Regions from separate parts of the Homo sapiens genome. Here all the other regions are linked to region 3. Evidence: promoter capture Hi-C in 16 types of primary human blood cells and fetal thymus (Javierre and others, 2016). All regions are on one chromosome and are shown on one strand. The core of a region is centred on a gene start or on the middle of the fragment in contact, and the rest is flanking DNA. Distances in the headings are between cores, read along the strand shown. Region 1 holds the start of TRV-CAC1-1 (tRNA-Val (anticodon CAC) 1-1). Region 2 overlaps NDUFS2 (NADH:ubiquinone oxidoreductase core subunit S2). Region 3 holds the start of FCRLA (Fc receptor like A).

The links. Contacts are between HindIII fragments. The CHiCAGO score rates a contact against its expected background, and 5 or more counts as called.
Region 1: a fragment that was not itself captured here is called in contact with the fragment with the promoter of FCRLA in region 3 in 1 of 17 cell types (total B cells); the score reaches 5.7 in total B cells.
Region 2: a contact is called between a fragment that was not itself captured here and the fragment with the promoter of FCRLA in region 3, in 1 of 17 cell types (naive B cells). The highest score is 5.7, in naive B cells.

What each region holds. Positions count from the first base shown.
Region 1 is chr1:161,396,116-161,400,173 of GRCh38, forward strand. It overlaps TRV-CAC1-1 (tRNA-Val (anticodon CAC) 1-1), which reads right to left and starts at 3,657; the gene lies at 3,585-3,657. RefSeq lists enhancers at 3,071-3,210, 3,218-3,817, 3,818-4,058 and a silencer at 3,551-3,630. The HindIII fragment of the contact is 5,595 bases long and covers 1-4,058 here.
Region 2 is chr1:161,207,608-161,211,655 of GRCh38, forward strand. It overlaps NDUFS2 (NADH:ubiquinone oxidoreductase core subunit S2), which reads left to right. Exons shown (of 14, transcript NM_001377299.1): 4 at 1,586-1,706; 5 at 1,876-1,988; 6 at 2,250-2,324; 7 at 2,504-2,581; 8 at 2,697-2,782; 9 at 2,984-3,103. Among named protein-coding and RNA genes, the nearest start is that of FCER1G, 5.7 kb to the right of the region's middle. The HindIII fragment of the contact is 667 bases long and covers 1,118-1,784 here.
Region 3 is chr1:161,704,533-161,708,539 of GRCh38, forward strand. FCRLA (Fc receptor like A) reads left to right here and starts at 2,697. Exons shown (of 5, transcript NM_032738.4): 1 at 2,697-2,811. The coding sequence starts at 2,733. RefSeq lists enhancers at 1,233-1,452, 2,993-3,172. The HindIII fragment of the contact is 3,109 bases long and covers 445-3,553 here.

The DNA.
Region 1 (4,058 bases), core at 517-3,016, 310 kb before region 3:
GAGACCAGCCTGGCCAACATGGCAAAACCTCGTCTCTACTAAAAATGCAAAAAATAGCCAGGCGAGGTGGTGGGCACCTGTAATCCTAGGAGGCAGAGGTTGCAGTGAGCCGAGATCAATGGTACTCCAGCCTGGGTGACAGAGCAAGACTCCATATCCAAACCAAAAAAAAAAAAAAAAAAGTATATATATATATATATATAGAGAGAGAGAGAGAGAGAGAGAAAGAGAGACAGAGAGAGCAGGCCCTGTTGGTGCATGCCTGTAGTCCTGATACAGGAGGTAGAAAGAAATTATTTAGCCACTGCAGCCTGGGTGACAAAGCAAGACCCTGTCTAAAAAAAAGAAAAAAAAAGCCTTAAAAATATGTACAGGTTGGCCAGGTGCGGTGGCTCACGCCTGTAATCCCCAGCACTTTGGGAGGCCGAGGCGGGTGGATCTCCTGAGGTCAGTAGTTTGAGACCAGCCTGGCCAACATGGCGAAACCCCATCTTTACTAAAAATACAAAAATTAGCCGGGTGTGGTGGTGGGCGCCTGTAATCCCAGGTACTTGGGACGCTGAGGCAGGAGAATTGCTTGAACTCGGGAAGCAAGGTTGCAGTGAGCCGAGATCACGCCATTGCACTCCAGCCTGGATGACAAGAGCGAAACTCTGTCTCAAAAAAAAAAAAAAAAAAAAAGTACAGGTTGAGTATCCTTTATCTAAAATACTTGGGACCAGAATTGTTTCAAATTTTGATTTTTTTCAGATTTTGGAATATTTGCATTATACCCACCCTAGTTGAGTATCTCAAATCTGAAAATCTGTAATCCAAAGTGCTCCAATGAGCATTTCCTTTGATCATCCTGTCAGCACCCAAAAAGGTTAGGATTTTGGAATATTTTGGATTTCAGATTTTCAGATTTGGGATGGTCGACATGTATTTTATATGAATAGTCCAAACAGCCTTCAAATATTTGGGCTTTTTTATTTTTTCTGGGAAATACTAAGAAATTATAATAAGGGAGGAGACCACCCCTTATATTGTCTTATGCCCAATTTCTACCTCCACAGAAAGAAGAAGTAAAAACTAAAAGGCAGAAATGGAATCCACAGGCAGATAGCCCAGCTCTGCGCCTGCGCCTGGTAGTTAAACATCAGCCCCTGACCTAACTGCTTGTGTTATCTATAGATTTCAGACATTGTATGGAAAAGCATCGTGAAAATCCCTGTCCAGTTCTATTCCGTTCTGATTACCGGTGCATGCAGCCCCCAGTCACGTACCCCCTGCTTTCTCAATCTATCACGACCCTCTCACACGGACCCCCTTAGAGCTGTAAGCCCTTAAAAAGGATAGGAATTGCTCACTTGGGGAGCTCGGTTTTTGGAGACGTGAGTCCACCGATGCTCCCAGCTGAAAAAAGCCCTTTCTACAACTCGGTGTCTGAGGGGTTCTTGTCTGTGGCTTGTCCTGCTACAATCATAGCTATGTTAAGGCTTAGCTGACATACAATAAACTGAACATACTTAAAATGTACAAGTTTTGACACGTGTATACACCTGGGAAATTATCACCGCAATTCGGGTCTGATTTACACGTTAGGCACAGTTCATAGGGCCTACTTTTTTTTTTTTTTTGAGACAGATTCTCTCTGTTGCCCAGTCTGGATCTCCGCTCACTACAACCTTCGCCTCTCAGGCTCAAGCGAGTCTCAAGCCTCAGCCTCCGGAGTAGCTGGGATTACAGGCGCAGGCCACCACGCCCGGGTAATTGTTATAGTTTTAGTAGAGACGGGGTTTCGCCATGTTGGCCAGGCTGGTCTCAAATTCCTGGGCTCAAGCGATCCGCTCACCTCAGCCTCCCAGAGTGCTGGGATTAAAGGCGTGAAACACCGCGCCTGGCCAAAAAATGTTTTATTTTAAATTCAAAATGCTGTAATGGAGGCTGGGTGCAGTGGCTTTTTTTACTCAGCATACTTGAGATTCATGTTGTTGTATATGTGAGCAGTTCCGTCCTTTTTTTGGCTGAGTAACATTCCATTGTATGGATCGGTCTTTCACTTGTTGATTGACATTTGGATAGTCTACAGTTTGGGGCTATTACAAATAGAGCTGCTATGAATGTTTGTGTACAGGCGTTTGTATGGGCATATGCTCTATTTACTCTTGGTAAATACCTAGGAGTGGAATGGCTGAGTCATATTGTAGTAGTTTAACGCTTTTAAAAACCCCCAAACTGTTTTCCAAAGTGAATGTACCATTTTACATTCCCAACAGCAGTGAATGAGTGTTCCGGTTTCTCCACATCCTTGCCAACTTGGTATGGTCAGTCTTTTAAATTTTAGACATTCTGATATGTGTGTAGTGGTATCTCATTGTGTTTTAAATTTGCGTTTCCCTAATGATTAATGACGTTGGACATCTTTCCATGTGATTATTTGCAATCCACATATCTTTTTTTTTTTTTTGAGATGGAGTCTCGCTCTGTAGCCCAGGCTGGAGTGCAGTGGCGCGATCTCAGCTCACTGCAACCTCCGCCTCCCTGGTTCAAGCAATTCTCCTGCCTCAGCCTCCTGAATAGCTGGGATTACAGGCACCCGCCACCACGCCCAGCTAATTTTTATATTTTTAGTGGAGACGGGGTTTCACCATCTTGGTCAGGCTGGTCTGGAACACCCTGACCTCGTGATCCACCCACCTCAGCCTCCCAAAGTGCTGGGATTACAGGCGTGAGCCACCGCGCCCAGCCCCATATATCTTTTTTTTAATCAAGTGTCTGTTCAAATTGTTTGTCCTCCTTTTAGGAGAATTGTGAAAATCTTTTAATTAAAAATGTACATTCTTTCCACCTGATTTAGAACCTAAAAATCTTGAAAGGAAAGAGAAAGAACTAACATTTTCGTGACTGAGAACTGGATGGTGACAAATGAGAAAATAAACACAGTAAAGACAAGTTTGGGGGGGTGACAGAGCAGAGCGAGTTGTGATCCCCGCTCCGTCACCACGTTCGTTTCGTTCCTCTGGACTACTGAGTTAATGATACCGGCAATCAGCGCAAAGCGAGATAATCACCAGCGCACTCTTGGATCTGTATACAGGTTTGTAAACTATGTGGAGGAAACCGACCCATCGCAGTCTCGGCCGAAGAGGCCGGAGCCGGAGCCAGAGCCAGAGCCTGAGCAGGGTCTGAAAAAAGGACCGGCCGTTCAGGACTAGGCCCTGAACTACAACTTGCTCCTCAGGGGTCCGGGTCGGAAGTGACGACTTCATTCACTGAGCAGCCATTTCCGGTTCCCAGTGTGTCCGAAGTTCCTTCTGGGTGTCAGAAAAGACACAAAAACTGACAGGGCGGAACCGCGACACGGTGCCTGATGATATCAAAAGGTCTCACGGCTCCGGAGGGACCCAGTCGCCCACAGCCGCCAGGGGCGCCGCCGGCTCCGAGCCCGTTGTCGAGAGCCGCTCGGCTGCTGGGGTCTGCCCTTCAGTCCTTCCAACTCTCCTCGGACCTAGAGTTCCGGGATCTCACTGCGATCTGGGCGAATTCTTACGTAGAATTCGAAAGGATATGGGGAAGGAAAAAAACAAAAACGGGAACCACTTTGTTTCCGCCCGGTTTCGAACCGGGGACCTTTCGCGTGTGAGGCGAACGTGATAACCACTACACTACGGAAACCAGGCGGTGGCAGGTTTTCCACAAATGACTCTGAAAAGTCAGAGGCTCACCACTGTGTCTCTGACCCACGAGAAAAGTACCCGGGCGGGCCACCCACAGCTTCGGGATCGGGGCGCGCAGGGAAGTAGCCAGCAAAGCAGGTAAGTCCCGGGCTGCTCGCGGCGGGGTCATGACTGAGGGCACAGGGGTGAACTCCATGGTGCTTCCTCAGGAAACTTCCGGCGCAGTCAGGGCTGCAGCCAGAGCCCGGAGATAGTTGGGCAGGGCTCCAGGCGTCCCCGAATGCTCGTCGTGGAGTTTTCCTGATCCTGTCGGGTCCCTAAGGAACGCTTGGCGGGGAGCGTGGACGCCCTGGGGCCAGGCCACCGCGGTCACTGAGAGCCACCCCCCCGGAAACTGGA
Region 2 (4,048 bases), core at 201-2,700, 500 kb before region 3:
GCCAGACGTGGTGGTGTGCGCCTGTAGGAGAATCACTTGAACCTGGGAGGCAGAGGTTGCAGTGAGCCAAGATGGTGCTACTGCACTCCAGCGCCTGGGCAACAGAGCAAGACTGTGTCTCAAAAAAAAAAAAGATTAAAAAAAAAAACCCTCCCAGATACTCTTAAGACTGATTGCCTTTCTCCTTCAGTATCTGAAGTTTTTTGTTTGTTTTGTTTTTTTCCCTACGGAGTCTCGCTCTGTCGCCCAGGCTGGAGTGCAGTGGCGTGATCTTGGCTCACTGCAACCTCTGCCTCCCGAGTTTAAGCAATTCTGTTTCAGCCCCCAGAGTAGCCAGGATTATAGGCACGCACCACCATGCCTGGCTAATTTTTTTTTTTTTTTTTTTTTTTTTGAGACGGAGTTTCACTCTTGTTGCCCAGGCTGGAGTGCAATAGTGTGATCTTGGCTCACTGCAAACTCCACCTCCCAGGTTCAAGCGAGTCTCGTTCCTCAGCCTCCCAAATAGCTGGGATTACAGGTACTCACCACCACGCCCAGCTAATTTCTATATTTTTAGTAGAGATGGGGTTTCACCATGTTGGCCAGGCTGGTCTCAAACTCCTGACCTCATGAGCCACCCTGACTTGGCCTCCCAAAGTGCTGGGATTACAGGTGTGAGCCACCGCGCCTGACCAGTATGTCAGTTTTTTAAATTTTTATTATTTTTTGAGATGGAGTTTTGCTCTTGTTGCCTAGGCTAGAATGCAGTGGCATAGTCTTGTCTCACTGCAACCTCTGCTTCCTGGGTTCAAGTGATTTTCCTGCCTCAGCCTCCCAAGTAGCTGGGATTACAGGCATGCACCACCACGCCCTGCTAATTTTGTATTTTTAGTAGAGAAGGGGTTTCTCCATGTTGGTCAGGCTGGTCTCAAACTCCTGACCTCAGGTGATCTACCCGCCTCGGCCTCCCAAAGTGTTGGGATTACAGGCGTGAGCCACGTGCCCGGCCAAGGACTCTTGACAGTGGTATCCTGGAGCTAGCTCATACGGGCTTGCAAGAGTGCAGTTGTTAAATTTTCAGGAGTTTTGTGAGCCAGTTGTTGAACATAGCCATTGTCAGAAATTAATTTATATAAGCTTATGATTTAATACATTATATTAAAAGCAAAGGTAAGATTAAATATTCAAAGCTCATCACTTCATTATTTTACCACATTTTACTATGCTCTGCCTTTGAGGTATTTGCTTTGAATGTGTCTGTATGGTGGAAATACTGTATAATGGTGTGGTATTCTTCCCAATGCTGCATTCAGTTACATGATATTGGTAACTTAAAATTGGCCATTGTGGGAGTATTTTTACCATGGAAATTGGCAAACATGACAAATCAGAGTCCTCCCTCACTTTGGAGAGCCAGTTTTTAAACATTTACTAGAATACTACTGGTTTTTGGGATATTTTTACCTGCCTTGTTGGGGCTCCTGAGACTAGAAAGGCTTATACAGCACCAACTTCTGGTGCCGACTGAGAGCAAGGCTTCAGGCAGCCAGACTGTGGGCTCCTGAGCCTGTTAGATGTGACCCACATTCCTCCCTCTTCCCAGGCCCTTCCATACTTTGACCGGCTAGACTATGTGTCCATGATGTGTAACGAACAGGCCTATTCTCTAGCTGTGGAGAAGTTGCTAAACATCCGGCCTCCTCCTCGGGCACAGTGGATCCGAGGTATGTCCCCCCAACTTTTTCTGTGGCCCACTGTGAGCATAGCATAGTGCCTTTTCCACCACTTCCCCGTTGAACCCAAGCTTAGTGTTCAGACCCCAGGCTCTGCCCAGACCTCTCTGTCCGCCTCAGTGCTTGGCTCCTATATCCTGTCTTCTCCTTGTCTTCACAGTGCTGTTTGGAGAAATCACACGTTTGTTGAACCACATCATGGCTGTGACCACACATGCCCTGGACCTTGGGGCCATGACCCCTTTCTTCTGGCTGTTTGAAGAAAGGGAGAAGGTAAGAGTGGGAGGAAAGGATAGGAATAGGGAAGGAAGTGCAGGAAGTAGAGAAGGTATAAAGGAGACAGGAGATTAAAAGAAGAGAGAGAACATGGGAGAACATTTAGAGGGGGAAGGTATGTTTAACTTGGGTTATATTTGTAGAAACTATATCATGAGGGGTTGGTTGGGCACAAGAAGGCAGAAAGTGGGGGAGTAGGCCATCATAGGACCTGGGGGCCTGGGACTTTGACACTAATTCCCAGCACGTTCTATGAAGATGTTTGAGTTCTACGAGCGAGTGTCTGGAGCCCGAATGCATGCTGCTTATATCCGGCCAGGAGGAGTGCACCAGGTGAGCAGGTCCCCGGCTTCCCCAAATGTCCAGCCCAGGCCTATTTTCCCTGTGGCCACTGGAGGGCAGTGCTGGATGATGGAAACTCCAAACCTGTATCGCTGGGGGAGGGGGTGCTGAGAGGGCTCTCCTTAGTGAAGGCTATGCCACATTCAGTAGCACTTCCGTTTGGCTTCTAGGACCTACCCCTTGGGCTTATGGATGACATTTATCAGTTTTCTAAGAACTTCTCTCTTCGGCTTGATGAGTTGGAGGAGGTAAGCTAGGAGTCAATGGGAAAAATCTCTCCCCCACAAGAAGGGCTAGAGAAATACAGAGATATTTGAAGAGTGTGAGGAAGAGTATTAACACACCAGTTTTCTTGATCAATAGTTGCTGACCAACAATAGGATCTGGCGAAATCGGACAATTGACATTGGGGTTGTAACAGCAGAAGAAGCACTTAACTATGGTTTTAGGTGAGGGGAATACAACTTCTCTCCGTAGGAGTGGGGGTGGGAGTGGGGGAGTTCCAGCCTAATATCTTGTCTTTGAAGACTTGTTGGCATCCTCCTAGTCATACCCTGAATGTGAAGGATCAACAAGGGAGGCTAAGGAAGAAGGAGCCTCCTTACTTAGTTTGTGGAGAGTGGCCCTTATTCCCATTATGCTCTCCACAGTGGAGTGATGCTTCGGGGCTCAGGCATCCAGTGGGACCTGCGGAAGACCCAGCCCTATGATGTTTACGACCAGGTTGAGTTTGATGTTCCTGTTGGTTCTCGAGGGGACTGCTATGATAGGTAAGGCCCCAATCCTTTCTTGGCTGATATTCCAGCTAGTTTCCCCTGCCTCACTCTTCTCTTTGCCACTTCCTTCTTTACCCTACTTCTCAGTGTCTGTGGGAGCTCTTGTGTGTGTTAGACGAGGTTGCTCTCAAAACACTTTCACATATATGGAATCTTACTTATTTTTTTCTTTTTTGAGACGGAGTTTTGCTCTTGTTGCCCAGGTTGGAATGCAATGGTGCAATCTCGGCTCACTGCAACCTCCGCCTCCTGGGTTCAAGTGATTCTCCTGCCTCAGCCTCCTGAGTAGCTGGGATTACAGGCATGAGCCACCACGCTCAGCTAATTTATGTATTTTTAGTAGAGACGGGATTTCTCCATGTTGGTCAGGCTGGTCTCAAGCTCCTGACCTCAGGTGATCTACCCGCCTCGGCCTCCAAAATTGTTGGGATTATAGGCGTGAGCCACCACACCCGGCCTATGGCATTCTTTTTATCTTTACATTATCCTTGTCTTAGATGGAGCTAGCTTTGGCTGCATTTTATAGCTGAGAAAGCTGAGGCATAAAAGTTAGGGATTAGCTGGGATTATTCTTCAGGAGTGGTCGAGACTAGAATCCTCCTGATCCAGTGTTCTTTCTAGTAGATCCTAAGCTTCAGATTCTCCTCCTGGGCCAGGCACAGTGGCTCATGTGTGTAATCCCAGCATTTTGGGAGTCCAAGGTGGGTGGATCACTTGAGGTCAGGAATTCAAGACCAGCCTGGCCAACATGGTGAAACCCCATCTCTACTAAAAATACAAAAAATTAGCTGGGTGTGGTGGTACATGCCTGTAAGTCCAGCTACTTGGGAGGCTGAGGAAGGAGAGTTGCTTGAATCTAGGAGGTGAAGGATGCAGTGAGCTGAGATGGAGCCACTGCATTCCAGCCTGGGCGACAGAGCGAGACTCTGTCTCAAAAAA
Region 3 (4,007 bases), core at 1,447-3,946:
AAATATAAGGTAAAGATTGTGGTTGATGATGGTGGGGAGGGAAGACAGTGTAATCGGACAGGGATCTATGCAGTACTTCAAGGATAACAGTACTAGTCTGTTCCTTCAACCATATAAGGTTTCAAAAGTATACACTGCATTATTTTTTACACCTTCACATTTTTAATAAATATTTTTATCTACTCAATTAAAAATAAAGAAGAGATAAGCATTAGTCCACTAGTGACAAGCCAGGAATGGCAAAGGAGGGCATCCACCACCTAATTGGTCTTGGGATGGGATGAGAGCTGGGATTTGTCCCATCTCCCCCTGAGTATTCTGAGGTGATCCTGATGGAGGAACTTACTCAATAAACCGAATCTCAGTCTCCATGAACAAACAGCAGACCCAATGTTGCTTTTTCCTCGCAGTGAATCACATCTATTCTAAATAGTTCATTGATTAAGCTTCAAGCGAGTAAATTTTCCCAGCAGCTTAATGGAAATTTCAGTGTAAAGAACTTGATAGCTTCACCCCAAATCTTCAGAAGGCCCCTTGCCTTCCATATTGACAGTGGGGTCCTGCAAGGATTGCTGCAGATGGTATAGGGGAGGGTCTCTATCCAGGTAAGATGCTATGGTAAGGACAGTAAAGGAGAAAGGGTGACATAAGAAGAGAAAGATATCATGATTTGTTTAGAAGCCCCTTAGCCTCTGCCTAACCCTGAGGGTCTATGTTTTATGTAGTTTTAGGAGTGGCGATGCATCTAAACACATTTTATTTGTTTAATTCGTACACCTGTAATCCAGCACTTTGGGAGGCCGAGGTGGGCAGATCACGAGGTCAGAAGATCAAGACCATCCTGGCTAACAGGGTGAAACCCCATCTCTACTAAAAATTCAAAAAATTAGCCGGGCGTGATGGCACGCTCCTGTAGTCTCAGCTACTCGGGAGGCTGAGGCAGGAGAATGGCTTGAACCCTGGAGGCAGAGGTTGCAGTGAGCCGAGATCGCGCTACTGCACTCAAGCCTGGGCAACAGAGACTCCATCTCAAAAAAAAAAAAAAATTATTAAGGCTAGCTAGGCTTTTCTTCCTCTTCTGAGGCTTCACATCACATCAGCTGCAAGGCTTACTGCCTCACTGCCTTCCCCAGCACCCATATTCAACCACCCCTGGACTCCCTGGGGCCACCTGCACAGAAGCGTATGCCTCTCGATAATGGAAATTTTATTCTAAATGCTTATTTTAGACTCAGAAAGATCCACTCTCTTATGCCCGTGTGGTTGATATGTCTGCTCTGACCTGTGGTTTTTGCACAGTTGAAGGGTCATACTGTCCCTCTCTCTGCCTTCAAGGAGGACCAAACTACCTTCCCCCATTTCTCTCTCTCTCTTTTTTTTTTTTTTTGTGAGATGGAGTCTCGCTCTGTCACCCACACTAGAGTGCAGTGGTGCAATCTTGGCTCACTGCAACTTCTGCCTCCTGGGTTCAAATGATACTCATGCCTCAGCCTCTGAAGTAACTGGGACTACAGCCATGCACCACCATGCCCATCTAATTTTTTTTTTTTTTTTTCAGTAGAGATGGGGTTTCACCATACTGGCCAGGCTGGTCTTGAACTCCTGACCTCCAGTCCAGTGATCCGCCCACCCTGGCCTCCCAAAGTGCTGGGATTACAGAGGCATGAGCCACAGTGCCTGGCCTACCTTACCCCATTTCTGATGGCTCATTTCATCTCCAAATAACCTACTGGAGGCCTGGTGGGTGTTATGATGACAGAAAGGGGAGGAATGTGGCCACTGTGAAAAGACACATGGGCCCTACCATTAAGTAGGCCTCAAACAAATAGCAAACATTCAGAGGCAGGGACAATGGTTCCCAGGAGGCCATCTGGAACGGAAGGGAGAGGCTGTAGCCTCTATATTGCTCCTATTCCTGAGTCTCCTCAGGTTTCTCAAGATATCGGATGCCTCCTATCTCTAATTTCCTCAGGATCAGTGGCCTGAGCTTTGGCTATGAGCCTAAGCCCTGAGCTGACTGCTGGATCCTCTGGGAATAGATTTTCTTTTTCCTCTACTCTTTCCCAGTGGATTCTCCCTGCCTTGTACTCATATTTCCACTGAGACTGAGCAGACTTAGTCATGCTCCAGAAATAGAGAGCTGACACGAGTCTAGAGAAATTTGCATGCAAATTTGTGTGGGCTTTGGATAGTCAGAGCCTACTAGAGACTAATCTGATATCTAACTTGGTGCCGTGACTAATCTTCCTTCTCTGTCTCGCTACCTTCTAGTCACTAGAAACATATAAGTGTTGGAATGGGCAGGACATTTGAATTCTCATCATTGATTCTCCAGTGATTTTCTATTGGCCTTCAAACAACATCCCACCTTCTGTCCCCAGTTGCATCACCAGTGAAAAGGGTGGTTGTTGCACTGACCTTTCCCAGAGTGTACATGAAGGCCAGCTGGCTATCAGACAATGACATGCTTTGACAGGCCCCTGAGCTCTGTGAGTAAATTCTTGAACAGCTGAGAGTGCTACCATTTTGTCATAGCCCTAAGGGTGCAGATGATGCTGAAAGCGTGTTGGCCAAATCTGAATGATGAAAGCCAATTACAAACTAGAAAATGAAAACAGACCCCAGATGCAAGGAGATGAGACAGTTAAATTTACTTCCTCTTTTCTAATCTGAGAGGTTTCATGTTGAAGAAAATCAGTGTTGGGGTTGCAGGAGACCTAAACACAGTCACCATGAAGCTGGGCTGTGTCCTCATGGCCTGGGCCCTCTACCTTTCCCTTGGTGTGCTCTGGGTGGCCCAGATGCTACTGGGTAAGTAAAATATTTGAATATTGGTGTGGGAATGGAGCTTTGCTTACCTTGGGAGAAAGGACCAGAAGGAAAGAAACATGGACTAATTCTGGCCCTCCAAAGAAGCAGTATTCAGGTGGAATAAGAAGGGTAGGTATAAGAAAGTTTGGTGTACAGGATTGAATTACTTTCTGAATATAAAAATCTTCCATCCTGAAAGTCCCCTCTGATCATGATATCCTCTCTAGCTCTAATCTCAACTCTTTTCTTTCACTTGTGAGACAAGTTTTCTTAAAAGAATAGTTTGCACTTGCTATCTCCACTTCCTCACTTCTCACACGCTCCTCAATGCTTGCAGCCTGGCTTCCACTGGAATTGGTTTTGTCTAGGGCACAACGATCTCTATATTGACTGGGTTATGGCATGCTTTTCAGTTCATATCCTGCTGGACTTCTCTGCTGCACTGGGCTCTGTTGATCACTTACTCCTTCTTGCATTCTCTACTACCCTGGCTTCCATGGCACCATTTTCTCCTTGTACTACATGGACTTCTCTTGATCCCTTAATAGCTTCTCTTCTCTTCCCCTTAAACACTAGTGTTCTCTATAGTTATAGCCTTGCCTCTGTACTCCTCTTTCTTTACACAATCTCCTTCATGAGCTTATTTGTCTGTTTAATTTTTGCCACTATAACTCTGTATTTAAGAGTCCCAAATCATATCCCCAACCCTAACCATGCTTTTGAGCTTCACATTCAAATATCAAGCTTCATACCAGACATATCTACCTACATATCTCACAAGTGTCTCTGCACCATGTGACTAGAGTTGAACTTATCTGTCCTTTTGGCCCCTGCCTCATCTAATTCATTTTCCACTTTCTGATCTCAGCTAATGACACCAGCATCTACCCTTACAAGGCCATAAACCTCAGAAACAACCCAGACTCTTCCTTCTTTTTCATTCTCTAAATCTGATCAATCATTAGGTTTGGCCAATTTTACCTTCTAAATTGTTCATAGAAGCAGTCCCTTGCCTGGATCATCACTAATGTCTTAGGACAAGCCCTCATCCTCTATGACTTGGGCTATTCCAGTAAATTCCTAACTAATCTCCTCGTCCAAACCTTGTGTTCTTGAAATGAATTCTGTACCCTGCAGACAGAGTAATTTCTAAAACTCAAGTTTACCAGCCCAAATTCTTTATCATGGCACAAAAG